Linked DNA regions of Homo sapiens: region 2 is linked to region 1. The links are contacts of gene promoters, found by promoter capture Hi-C in human tissues and cell types (Jung and others, 2019). All regions are on one chromosome and are shown on one strand. The core of a region is centred on a gene start or on the middle of the fragment in contact, and the rest is flanking DNA. Distances in the headings are between cores, read along the strand shown.

Region 1 (6,752 bases), core at 1,567-4,066:
ACCATTCAAAACAGCCAACAGCGTGTCACCCAGATCATCCTCACAGTGAGACCTGCAGTTGTCCAGAGCAGTGGCCTGGGAGGCTTTGAGGAGGAGGGGGGATTTGAGCTGGACCTGGAAGGTTAGCATGGACAAGATAAATAGAAGGTAGAGCCAGGCGCAGTGGCTCACACCTGTAATCCCAGCACTTTGGGAGGCCCAGGTGAGAGGATCGCTTGAGGCCAGGGGTTTGAGGTTGTGCTGAACTATGATTACACCACTGCATTCCAGCCTGGGTGAGACAGAGTGAGACTCTTTCTCTCAAAAAAAGAAAAAAGAAAAGAAAAAGGGCAGAGAAAAAGGCATGCCAGACAGGCATACTTAAGGTATTCTCAGAGGACAGGTTGGCAGCTATCGAGAGGGATCACATAAGTAAGAAGTGAGATGTGAAGTCAGACATAGAGGTTGGAGCCAGGTATGGAGATCCTCAAAATTTGAGATAAGGAGCATAGACCAGATTCCATGGACAGTGGAGAGTCATTGAGGGATTCCAAGAAGGGAATTGGTTTGGTGACAGCTGAGTTTTTCTTTCTGGCAGCATTGTCCAGGGGAGCATGCCTTGTTGTGGGGTAGGCAGGGAGGTCAGTTGGGAGGTTACTATGAAGCTGGGGACCATGGGCCTGAGAAGGAAAGGGGACACGCGTGAAGGCTTGACGTGTGGAAAAGAGGGAGAGAGAGGGTCCAAAGATGTTCAGTCTGATTCTTTTGATTCTCCAGACAGCTAAACAGCTACTGAAACCCTGGCAAATAGTAGTGGGGTGTGAGAGTGGAAGAGACTGCAGACCAAATCTGGGCTGGTGTTTTTCAGGAAGCGGGCTCCTCTTTGGGCAGACCTAAGTCTGATCATCCTATCCTAAACTCACAGGACCAGTAGGACCCAGAGGTGCCCCAGCTGGGCCACATCCACTCCCAGGGCCCTTTCCTCCCTCTTCCAAGAGAAGAATCCAGAAACGACACAGCATAGCTCCCCATGGTCCCCAGGGAGCCGTAGATTCTTGGAACAGTGTCCTGCAGTGGATAGACCGCAGGAAGAGTGTCTAGTCCTGCCTTTTACTCCCTCAGCTCCTGTTGACTCCCAGGAAAACAATGCCATCTTCATGGGCTGCGCTAAGTGGCAACGAACCCCTGGGAGTCTGATCAAGGCAGGGAAGGGGACTAGGGAGAGGAGAGGGAACAGTAAAGACAGAGGAAACTGCTTCTGGAGGCATCTCAATGGGCTTTGGGGGAAGGTGGGTTTCATCTCAGAATCCAAGCACGTCGGGGCTGGGGAGGAGCTCTTGAGATCATTTTGGCCACCCCTCCTTGTCTGGAGGTGAGCCTGAGACCCAGACAGGGGAAGGGACTTGCCCAAGGTCATATATCACGGTAGTGATGGAGCTGGGCTGAAATCATAGGGTGTTGGGGACAGGTAAGGTGTTATTCCCGTCTGGACAGTTTTGAATAGCACCACCAAGGGCCTGGCTAGAGATTCCTTTCCTGGGCAACGTTTGTTCTCTCTCTCTCTCTCTGTCTCTCTCTCTGTGTGTGTGTGTGTGTGTGCCCGCCCTGTGTGTACCCTGTGAGTGCCTGTGTGTATCTGTGTGCATGTGTGCCTATGCCTGTGTTGTCTGACAGTCTGGGTGTACGTGTGGCCTCCTACATGGTGATCTGCCCTGGCTTGGAAAGAACTGGGGTTATTCCTGTGAGGTGACTGTTTTGCTGGGACAGCAGAGAAGAAGGCTGACAAGGCCAGATCTGGCTTCCCGCACCAATTCTGCCGCTCTGAGAAAATCACAGGCACTGACTGGTGGCGACCAAACTCCTGGAGCTGAAACACGCAGACACACGTACACTCACAGCCGCCGTTATAGGGTGGCCCCAAGTGCCCCGAAGTGCCGCATTCCGACATCCTCATGCCTCCCCAGAGCCCAGCAGGTGTAGACCTGCTAGGCTGTGGAAGCCGATCCTCAGGGATACGGAGCACTGGCGCTCTCCCGCCGCTCACTCTCAGCGCCCTGTTCAGGGCCTGGCCCGGCCACACCCCTCCTGCCCGAGCCTCCGCCGGTCGTCCCTGCCCCTCTCACACACTTCGGAGTCCCTGGGGGCCTATGCAACATGGCAGGGCCAAGTTAGGGCTGGCCCGGCCGGAGAGTCAGGTCCGGAGCCAGGAATCGACGCCTCCCCGAGTTCCGTCCCCGCGGAGCACACACGCCAGGCTGAACTCGGGTTTCTGCGAGCGCAGGGTTCGGCGCCCAGCCCCTCTCGGGGGAGCCCCCGCCCCCAGCCCCAGCCGGCCCCGGACGACTCCCGGAGCCCCGCGCCCAGCCCTGGGTTCCCGCCCCCCGCCCGGCGAGCCGTTACCGATGGTGGTGATGACGGTGATGGCGAAGTAGAAGGAGCCGGCGAAGCGCCACTGCACGCCGGCCTTGTGCGGCTTGAGGCGCAGCACGACGCGCTCCAGCTCCTCGTAGCCGCCCTGGCTGAGGTTGTAGCGCGCCCGCAGCTCCTGCTGCCGCAGCTCCAGCCGCTGCCGCTCGATCAGCTCGGGCTCCGACTCCAGCGCGTCGAAGACCGCGGCGCCCACCAGCAGGTAGGTGAAGGTGCACACGATGAGCGCCAGCGTGCGCACGTTCTGCCGCTTCATCGTCCCGCCCGGGCCGCCGCCGGCCCCCCGGCGCCCCCGGCCCGCGCCTCGGCCCCGGCCGCCGCTGCTGCTGCCCCGGAGGCGGCCTGGGGCATGGCTGCGCTCGCCGCTCTCCGCGCCGGGCACCCGCTCAGCGCCCGGGGCCGCCGCCGCCGCCGCCGCCGCGGAGCTGTCCCTTCAGCACCACCCACCGCCCTCCTCCGCCCGGCCCCGCGCCCGCCCCCCGCCCCCCGCCCGCAGGCCGCCTCCTCCCGCCAGCCCTCCCGCCCAGCCAAATAAGGACTGGGGAGACGCGCCGAGGAGGGAGGAGGGGGGCTGGCGGAGGGGACGGGAGGGGCGGCCGCGAGAGAGCCCGGGCAGGACAGAGAGAGAGAAAGAGAGAGAGAGCGAGCCCGAGAGACAGAGAAAACTAGACAGCGAAACGCTGATAACTACGGAGAATGGGAGAAAGGCAGTGTAGGACTGAGGGAAGGGGGCTGTGTGACAGAGGAGGAGATAAAATCAGAGGTGCACTCAGACAGAAAAAGAAGAGAGGCGGGCAGAAAAATACAGAGCAAAAGATGGAAACAGAGAGAGCAACAGACTGAGACAGAGAGGCCTGGATTGCTGGAGATAAACTAATGACAGAGAAACAGACAGGAAGGCAAGGAAGGCAGAGCGAGCCCCTCCCCACCCCACCCTCCACCCTCATCACAGCATATTGCAGCCAGGAGGCACTTGGGGCCTCGCTGTCCTGCCCTTATCCTATGGATGAGGAAATGGAGGCCCAGAGAGGTCAAGTGACACGCATGGGCACGCAGTGATTTCGTGACAGCACTGGGACTCAGCCAAGCGTTCCTTCCTCCCAGGCCACACTCCTTCCTCCCTTGGGCCAGACTCTGGCTGTCTTGGAAGCAGGCAGGGCCCAGCTGTGGACCTGGGCACACATGAGCTGACACCCAAGGGAAAGCCCTGTTCTCAGGCAATGTGTGCCTTCCCAGGTCAGCACAGTTCTTGGAACTGGCTGAGAAGGCACAGGCTGGGAGTCTAGGCCTCCTGCTTCGCTCCCAGGGGCTTCTAGGCTGTCCCGACTCCCATGGTTCCTGTCTTGCACCCGTGCACCAGGCTGGGCTTAGGCTGAGTTGCCAGAGATAGCACCTGCCACCACCTTAGGGCATCCCAGCAGAACCGGGATCTAGCTGGAATTGGGCAGGTGGGGCCCAGAGCAGGAGGCTCACTGGCAGACTGCGGGAACTGGGGCAGGAGAGGGGGTCCCTATGCCTCAGTTTCTTCATTTGTCAAACATGGTGGCTATGGTGGTGAGGTGGGAAGGGTAGTGGAAACTCAGGCATTACTGACCCTCTCAGAGCCTTGTTTCCTTATCTTTTCAACGAGGTGTCGTAGCAGATGATCCCACAGGCCTTGCCCAGCTCTAAACAACTCCAGACTTGGATGGGCTGAGTGAGCAGAATGATTGGAATGCAAATCTCAGTGCCAAGAAGGGTTAAAAAGTCCTTCACAGGACCCTGGCATGGGCCAGGCAGAGAGACAGGGAAGAGACACCAAGGCCCCTGACTGAGAGCAGACTCAGGAGGCAGTCAGCCAGAAGCTGGAGCACTGTCTACCCACAGGCTGGGCTGACCTGTCACTGCCGGACACTACACTCCTCCAATGACACCCCAGAAGTGCCACCAACCCCTTCATTCCTTCAACAAGTATTTATTAAGCATCTGTTGTGTGTCAGGGATTCATCATCTCTGGTCCTCACCACAATCCTGAAAGGTAGGTGTGGTCATGCCTATTTTATAGATGGGGAAACTGAGGCTAAAGGCAATGTAGAGAATCAGTAAATTTCACTCAGCTGGGAAGAGGCTTCAGTCTGTCTGCCTCTTAAGCCCATGCTCTTTGCCATGACTCCTTGAGTCTCTCTTTTTTTTTTTTCAATTTGTAAAGTGGAATAGATAATAATATTAGCTCTACCCGCGTCTTGAACCATTTGTTTTGAGAGATCAAAGAAGAACACATGTGTGCAAATCAGATGATATGAGGCTCTCTAATGACTTCAGAGCCCAATGGGAGGGTCCTACATTTATAGCACCATGTTCCCCCTCCCTCTTCAAGGGAAGATCTTTGTTTCTTTGCAGGCACAGAATTTCTGGTCTTGCCCTCTGACCAGCAACTCAGCCTATTGCAGGCTTTTCCCCTTTGCATCTTCTGGCTCCCTGGAAGGAAAGTACTGCCTTTCCCAGCTTCTCAGAGGTGAAGGTACAAGTTAGGTTCTGTGCATTTCTGATGTATTGGCTCCTGGTGACAGTCACCCCAGAAGCGAATTCCCCCAAAGCCTGTCTAGATGAGCAAGAGGGTTGCTAGACCAGGTTTTCAAGGTGAAAAGGCTGTGTCCAGGTTCTGCTTGCTTGTGACTGCCAGGCCAGACAGCTGTACCGATGAAAGGTGATATTATGAGTGAAAGAGCTTTGGAAAAGGGAAAAAGCTGTCTTTAGGGGCAGGGCATGTATTATTAATCATGATGAAGCTTTTTCTCTGAGCACTTCAATACTGAAAGGACCTTTAGAGATCATTTAGCCCAACCTTCTCATGTTACATATGAGGAAACTGAGGCCCAGACAGTAGGAAGAGTGTTGTCCAAGGTCACACAGTGAGTGAGGGGGAACCAGGACTCATGTCCCAAGGTTGGCACTTTCTTGTTGCACCTATTATGTGTGGGACCAGGGCACCTATCAGTGGGGAGGCCCTGAAGCCCAGAGGGCAGCCTAGGTCTCCTTCTTCCTGCCCCTCCTCTCTCCTTCTCTTGGGGAGAAGGTTCTGGAATAGGAGCCATGTTGGTACCAGTCTAGGTTTCTGAGTAGCCCCTGGGACTTGTAGGCAACCTGGGTCAGATTGTGCCAAAGACATATCAGCTTATCCCATTTCTTCCCATCCTGGGCTCCTCAGACCTGCCTGTGCCTGCCCAGTGTCAACCTGTCTCTGCCACCTGTTTGCTCTGGCATTGGGGGCCAGTCGCTCCTTCTCCTTGAGGCTTGCTGCTCATCCATCAGTGGAGGGGTCTGGACCAGGAAATGTCCACACTCCCTTCATTTATAGCATCCCATGACCTTCCCGGACTCTGTTTCTCTAGTTCTCCCAATAATCAGACAAAAAGAGGAAATAGCACTACTTTTAAGATTCTAGTTTGTGAGGAAAGGGACACAGAGTTAGGTAGGATAAATTGAACAGAATGTGTCATTAGTTACTATATTTTATTATATACTAACATCATACACAATTATTAACCAGCTTTATCTTCCAGTCCATTCTTCTCTAAGTTCTAAACACATCCAAGTACTTCCATGCTTCACATGGCTCATGTGGCTCCCATAACCTGGGATGCTGGTGCCTCCTTGCCTTTCCCATCTTCTGTCTGTTGAACTCCTATTCAGGCTCCAAGACCCAGCTTAAAGACCACTCCCTCCATGAAGCATTTCCCAGTTTCCTCTGATCAGAACCACTGGCTCTTTTTGTGCTTCTGCAGCACCCTATCTAAGCATCAACTCAGCAGGTATTCCTCCTGCCTAAAAGATTAGCTGTTCTTTCATATCCATCTTCCCCACTGGCTCATTATCTTCTCCAGGGTGGAGGAAACCCTTCTCACTCATGCTACTCTCCCCGCAGTACTTTGCACCTTAGAGCTGCTCCACATGTTTCCTTGGGTGACTCACTCAAATGAAGGCTTTAAGGATCTCTATACCTGAGTTAGAGACCATCAGTGTCAGAGGGAGAGGGGCACAGATGGCTGAGTCTGCAGGCAGAAAAACCCTGGCAATCTGCTTCTGTGGTTCTCTGAAGAGAGATAGTTCTAAAGCTGGGACAAGCTCTGTCTAGCTTAGGAGAGGAGGATAAAGACAGATGTGTGTCCCAGGGCCCAAGGAAGCATGTGGGAGACAGCATTGAACTAGGAGTCCAGAGGCTGGAGTTTGGTCCCAGTGCTGCCATCAACTACCACCAACTAGTTGGGTGGACTCGGGAAACTCACGTGGCCTCTATGTGTCTCAGTTTCTTTTTCTATAAGACAAAAGCGTTGGCTGTATCCAAAGGTCCCTTCCTGCTCTGACAT
Region 2 (6,752 bases), core at 2,118-4,617, 47 kb before region 1:
TCGATTACGAGGTCCATTTTTGCAGCCCAGAGCAGGGGGAAGTGGGAGCTGCTGTTCACTTTTGATGCTTGGATTGGGATGGCCTGACAGCAGCCTGGCCCCGGCAGTGATCTGCCCTCAGCATCCTGGAGCCCCAACCACTCCCAGCCATGGGCTGACCCCATGGGAGGTGGCGTCCTAGGGGTGGGTTGTGGGCCTTCCGAGGCTCCTAAGCTGTTAAGTGGTGAGGGAGCCAGGTGGACAGGTGGTACTGGCCCATCCCAGCCTCAGCACACTCCTGCCCGTCACGGCTCCTGCTCCCTGCCCTGAAGGCAGGGCTGCTGGGGCCACCGAGGCCACTGGCATGACTATCAGGACATCTGATTCTTGAGTTGGAGGCCGCTGTGCAAATGCGAGGCTGAGGACAGCCCGGAAGATTCCATTACAGTGTTTTGACAATCTTCTCCCTTGGCTGTGCCACAGGCTCTCCTTGGCCTCCCTGCCAGGCAGGGGAGTAGCTTGTTCTCAGCTCTGGAAGCAACAGCTGGGGCATCCCGGGCCCTCCCAGCCCACAGAGAAGGGCTTGCTATGTGCCCTCCTGCCGTTCCCCTGCCTAGGCTGGTGTAGAGAGAGTGATCTTACAGAGCGCAGGCATTGGGCTACGAACATCTGTCAGGAGTGAGTGATGCCAGGTGAATCTTCTAGAAACTCTAAATTCCATGAAATTTTCCTCCACTCGGAAACTTTTGCTGGCTCCCTGTTGCCTGTGAGTAACAGCTAAGAGCTGAACATCCTGTCTGGTGGATGCCTCCAATGTCTCTTCCATTCTCCCCTGCCTTTCCTTACTCCTTCCCTCCTCCCCACACTTTCACAACCATCTTTGATGCCTATTAAGTGTAGGTATGGCATGAAGCTCCAGAGATAAAACCACAAATGAGATGGACACAGCCCCGGACTCATGGAGCCCACTCCCTCCCCTTCCTAAGGAGATCCCCGGGCTCTTCTCACTGTTCTCCAGCACTCTGGGAACATTCCCCTATGGGGCCTTTGCTCAATTTCCTACACCTGAAATGCTGTTGCCATGTGCTAGATCCCACCATTCCTTCCAGGCTCAGTCAGGCCCAGCCCCGGCCCCATGTCCACACCTCCCCAGCCTTGGAGCCCTCTCTGTCTCACTTGGCACTCAGCCCACACACCTTGACCTTCATTTCTCTCTGCAAAGCTCCATCAGCCCTGTGCTCACACTCATGGTGGCAGACACGAGCGGGTCCTATCCAAGTCCCTCCCTGGGGCCCAGCTCCTAGTACTGGAGAAGGGAGTGGGGGTCCCCATGGGGTCAGCATTGGGCTTATCCAGGAATGCAGACCTGACTGGTCGGGCTGAAGTGCTTTAGGGGCAATTTTGCATCAGGGTCTGTGGTGCTTCTTGGCCAGCCTCATCTGAAGGGAAGCAGGCAGACCACAAGGGAAATAAAAGCATAGCAGAGCATAGCACTGAGGTTTGTATGGTTCCTGCCACACAGCCCAGTCCTCATGCACTCAGGAGAGAGGGCTAAGTCACAGAGAGGGGGCTGTGAGTACAAATCCAAAGCGTTTTCACTAAACCCACCACGAAAGTTTGGAGCACCAGACAACATGCTCTGAAGTTGCAGGAGGGAGTGTCACAGTAGGTGGGTGGGGTTTGAGGACTGTGCTCATTGGGGCAGACTCTGCAGCCTGAGCAGCAGGATGGTCCGCCTGTCTTGACAGCTGTAGGCGAGGAGGAGCCTGTCTCCTTGAGCAGCTCCAGCCCCAAGCGGCAGGTGGCAGAACGATTGGGCCACATGGCGCCTTGTCCCTCACCCTGGTGTGCGTGCCAGCCTAGGCAGAGGTTACCCCATAGTGGTTTAGATGGGATGAGACCCTTTGGGACTCCTCGAAAAAGATGGGAGAGTAATTTTAATAGGCGAAGAAACAGCCAAAGAAATGGGGTTTCATGGGCTCTGGGGATTTTCCATTTACCCTCAGCCTGCTAGGGCCTGAGAGACCCTGTTTGCCTAGGCAGAGGCACAGTGTTTTAGATTAGCTCCTGCCCCATTGACCTTTGCTTGATGTCTGGCTTGTGCCAGCAACACCCCATGGGGACCTCATGGTTGCTTGTTACATCCATATACTGATATGTGTCCAGCTTCGAGTGACACTAGCGACACCTGTGCCGACAGCTGGCCTGGTCTGGGGTGGGCAGAAGTTGACCAGAAGCATTGATGGCCTCCCCGCTGACCCTCTCATAAAGAGGCATGGGGGACTTACACCCCCTACCGTGGCCATCAGAACAAAATGGGTGTAGGTGGGAGTGCTTAGCTCATCTGCTGGGCCGTGTGCAAAGCCTCTATGGTTTGTTTTTTCCTAAACAGCTTCTTTGAGATAAAACTGACATAAAATAAACTACACATATTTAAAATGCAGAATTTGGTAAGTTGACAGATGTATATACATGTGAAGCCATAACAGAGAGCAAATGCATCCTTCGCCCCAAACCTTCCCTTGCTCCCCTCCTGCTCCCCGCCCCCTGCCCCCTCAACTTTTTTTTTTTGAGACAGTGTCTCACTCTCATCTAGGCTGGAGTGCAGTGGCACAATCATGGCTCACTGCTGCCTAGACTTCCTGGGCTCGGGTGATCCTCCTTTCTCAGCCTCCTGAGTAGCTGGGACCATAGGTGCGTGCCACCACACCTGGCTAATTTTTTTGATTATTTAGTAGAGATTGGGTCTCACTATGTTGCCCAGCTGGTCTTGAACTCCTGGGCTCAAGGAATCCACCCGCCTCGGCCTCCCAAAGTGCTGGGATTACAGGCGTGAGCCACTGCGCCTGGCCTGCTCACCTTTTTAATCCCAGCCTCCTCCCCTGGGCCAGGGCAACTGTTCATCTGCTTTCTGCCCCTCTAGATTAGCTTCTGTTTTCCGGAACTTTAGAGTAATGGAATCCTTCCATATGTGCCCCTGTTTGTCTGACTCCTTCTGCTTTTTGTGTGTTTCAATAGCTTCTTCCTCTTCATGGCTGTATTGTATTCCTTGCCACACATATACCCGGCTAATGTATCCATTTCCCTGTGGATGGACACGCAGGCTGTTTCCAGTTTTGGCCTGTTACAGATAGAGTTTTGAAGCTGGTGCAGATAGGGGAGAGCGCTAGCCAGGGAGCCCAGAGGCCCATTCCCTCCCTCTTTTTTGTGAGACGGAGTTTCACTCTTGTCGCCCAGGCTGGAGTGCAATGGTGCATTCTTGGCTCACTACAACCCTACCTCTTGGGTTCAGGTGATTCTCCTGCCTCAGCCGCCCGAGTAGCTGGGATTACAGGCACCCGCCACCACGCCCGGCTAACTTTTTTGTATTTTTAGTAGAGACGGGGTTTCATCATGTTGGCCAGGCTGGTCTCGAACTCCTGACCTCAGGTGATCTGCCTGCCTTGGCCTCCCAGAGTGCTAGGATTATAGGCGTGAGCCACCGCGCCCGTCCTCCCTCCCCTCTTTGTCTTACTGTTCTCTTCTGAAACATGAAGCATTGGACTCACAGTTCCTAGGGGCCCTTGGCTTTAACAGTTGGCTTCCTTCATTTTTCTCTGTTAATGCTGTGCTCCTGTGACAGTGAGGGCCAATGGCAGAGGCTGGGCCTGCTCAGGACCTGGGGGTGCTGGGCTCTGCACTGCCCAAGCCTCATTCTGGAATTCAAGTGGTAAGTTTGTAGACCCTCAGCTCCGGTGAGCTTAGGCTACAGAATTTGGAGCTAGAAAGGACCTGAAGCATTGTCTGTATGGTCGCCTGACTGGGTGCATGGGTCCCCTGAAATGCGTGTTGAGGATCTGCTGGAGCCAGCCCATTGTGGCAGCAGAGCGCTGACGCTTGAATCCCATCCACCCTGGGGGGCTAGGGAAGGGTGGGGTGGGGCTGGGTTTGTCCCACCCCTACTGTCTCCACTGTCCCCTTCCCCCACCATGGCCAACTGGCCTCCCTCCCTGCCTCCCAGCAACCTCAGCAATGCCCTACTTAGACCCCGGAGAGGGGTCTGCCCATCTGTTCACCATGATAAGGCTGGAGGGGGCGGTGGCAGTGGGTTCCTATTGTGTCTGTGGCACCAGATTTGGAGATTAACTCCAAATCACTTCGGTCTCAGGAACAATGAAGTGGCTCCCCCACAGCCTGATGTCACCCCACCAACCTGCTGCTCCCTCTGGGAAGGGAGGATCAGGAAGGGATGGGCTCTGGCTTACTCTGCCTTCCAGAAGCTGCTGAAGCAGCATCTGGGATCCCCATTTGCTCAGGGGCAGGGATGAGGTTGGGGGGCACACCTGGGAAGGCAAAGAAAACAATGTGGCCCCAAGGGCCAGAGACTGTGGTGGCTGGATGGATGTGGAAGGTGGAGCCATGTGGCCTTGGATTCGAAACCTGGTTCTGCCACTTGGGTGACCTTGGATAAGTAAGGTGACCTCCCTGAGCCCCAGTCTCCTCACCTCTGGATGGGGATAATTGTACCTCCCTCTGCAGGGGTGTTGGGAGAATTGAGTAGCACTCCTAGCCCAGCTCCTCGCACATGCTTCATATCTATTGTTTGCTCCACACACCTCAGCCCCAACTGATCTAAGAGCCCTGGCCATCAAGTTTCCTGTGGCACATTTCAGTCCTTGGAGGCTGTCCTGAGTGATAAGGGACAGCCCTCTTGCTCCCTCTCTTCAAGGACAGGACAGGTGCCTGAGAGAGGAAGGGGCTCAAGTCTGAGCTGGGAACGGGCTGGGAAGGGCCATGCCCAGGTCAGGAGCTAGGGATGGGGTTTGGGCTGGGCAGAGCTTGGCTAAATGAAGAAGCCCAGATAAAGTGGTGGTGGCTGGGGGAGAAAGGGTGAAAGCTTAGTCAGGGAAGGAAGTGCCTTTTTTATTTTTATTTTTATTTTTATTTTTTTGAGACAGAGTCTCGCAGTGGCGCAATCTCGGCTTATTGCAACCTCCGCCTCCTGGGTTCAAGCGATTCTCCTGTCTCAGCCTCCTGAGTAGCTGGGATTACAGGTGCGCACCACCACTCCCTGCTAATTTTTGTATTTTTAGTACAGACAGGGTTTCACCATGTTGGTCAGGTTGGTTTCGAACTCCTGACCTCGTGATCTGCCCGCCTTGTCCTCCCAAAGTGCTGGGATTAGAGGCATGAGCCACCGCGCCCAGCCAGGAAGCACCTTCTATCTTTAGCAAGTTCAAATCTCCAGGTCACTGACATCTAGGGACTAGGAAGCTGTGCTGATGTGACTGGAGCCCAGCCACCTGCTGGCTTTGATTAAACAGATAATTTTCAAGAACAGATAAAAGGAGTGATGAGTAGCCAGAGCCAGCAACAGTTCACCAAGAACACGCCAGAATAAATGTCACCCTGAATTAAGGGTCCCTTATCTGATTCTGTCCTCTGATATTTTCATCAAAGGCTTGAGTAATGGCACAGAAGGCTATATTACCAAATTAGTGGGTGATGTGGGGCCAGGAGAGAGCAGGAAGAGATTTAATGTGGAACCAGGCTTCAACACCTGAAGCCTCATCAAAGGCCTGGAGCTGCTCAGTGGCACTAAAGTGCAGTCTGGCGCTGATATTAAAAAGGGTAACTGCTCAGCTTCGGCACAGGAGAGGCCTGGCTCAAAAGGTAACAGGCTGGGCATGGTGTCTCACACCTGCAATCCCAGCACTTTGGGAGGTGGAGGCGGGCGGATCACCTGAAGTCAGGAGTTCAAGACCAGCCTGGCCAACATGGCGAAACCCCGTCTCTACTAAAAATACAAAAATTAGCCAGGTGTGGTGGCAGGTGCTTGTGATCCCACCTACTCAGGGGGCTGAGGCAAGAGAATTGCTTGAACCCGGGAGGCGGAGGTTGCAGTGAGCTGAGATCATGCCACCGCACACCAGCCTGGGCCACAGAGTGAGACTCCATCTCAAAAAAAAAAAAAAAAAAAAGGTTAACAGACACTGATTTTTTCTCTTGTCTTGGAATTTGCCACCAGTATGCACAGCCAAGGACAAAGAGATGCTCTCAGTTCTCCCCAGCCTGGATAACTAAAAGAAAAGAAGGAGGATCCCTCTAGTTGTGGGTTGTCAGCCTCAGAGAGGAAACCTGGCAGAGTTGGAGCTGCAGGCTCCCAGGTATCACTCATAGAAACTGCAGGAAGGGGAGATGGCATCTTTTTCCCAGGTTGGATGTCTACTTTGAAATGAGCTCACTGCTCTGCTCCCAGTGCCTGTTTGAACAAGGGCAAAGAGCATGGGGAAAGGTGGCAAGGGTCTCTGGGGGCCCTCTCACTCCCATTGTCCAGCATGTATTCCATAGTCAGTAGTGGCCTGGTCACGTGTTTCCTCTTCCAGGAAACAACTGTGGGAGAGTGTTGATTTGGGGAGTCAGCCCGGTCAAAGGCATGACCTTTTCCCCAGGAACCTTGGTCTCCTCCAGCCAAAGGGCAGAGGTCATTGGCTGAACATTTTGCTGCCGTTGGTCGCGAGTCTAGGCTCTGGGCAGGGTTTGCTCAGGACATGTGGTGAAGTGGGTGAAGTGTTCCTAACTCCTGTCTCCTTTGGATGATGGGTTCTGTGAACCGTGTCCACCTGGGGGCTCCTCCACCCATGGGAAGCTGCCCAGTGAGCTGGGAGGCTGGTGAACAGCGGGACACTGCTGGCCCAGAGCTATTGTGACTGGGCTGCAGCCCTGGCCCAGCACATCCATCACCATGGAAATGCCTGTGGCTCTGCCCAGTGCTTCACATACAGGGTGAATGT

The links. The method cuts DNA at HindIII sites, captures the fragments that hold promoters and counts their contacts. A contact is called where the count stands out against the background at its distance.
Region 2: a contact is called between a fragment that was not itself captured here and the fragment with the promoter of KCNK3 in region 1, in 4 of the 25 tissues and cell types used here (aorta, heart right ventricle, neural progenitor cells and 1 more).

What each region holds. Positions count from the first base shown.
Region 1 is chr2:26,688,786-26,695,537 of GRCh38, reverse strand. KCNK3 (potassium two pore domain channel subfamily K member 3) reads right to left here and starts at 2,816. Exons shown (of 2, transcript NM_002246.3): 1 at 2,380-2,816. The coding sequence starts at 2,662. The HindIII fragment of the contact is 34,558 bases long and covers 1-6,752 here.
Region 2 is chr2:26,735,977-26,742,728 of GRCh38, reverse strand. No RefSeq gene overlaps it. Among named protein-coding and RNA genes, the nearest start is that of SLC35F6, 25 kb to the left of the region's middle. RefSeq lists enhancers at 1-278, 3,794-4,294, 4,295-4,795. The HindIII fragment of the contact is 8,347 bases long and covers 1-6,752 here.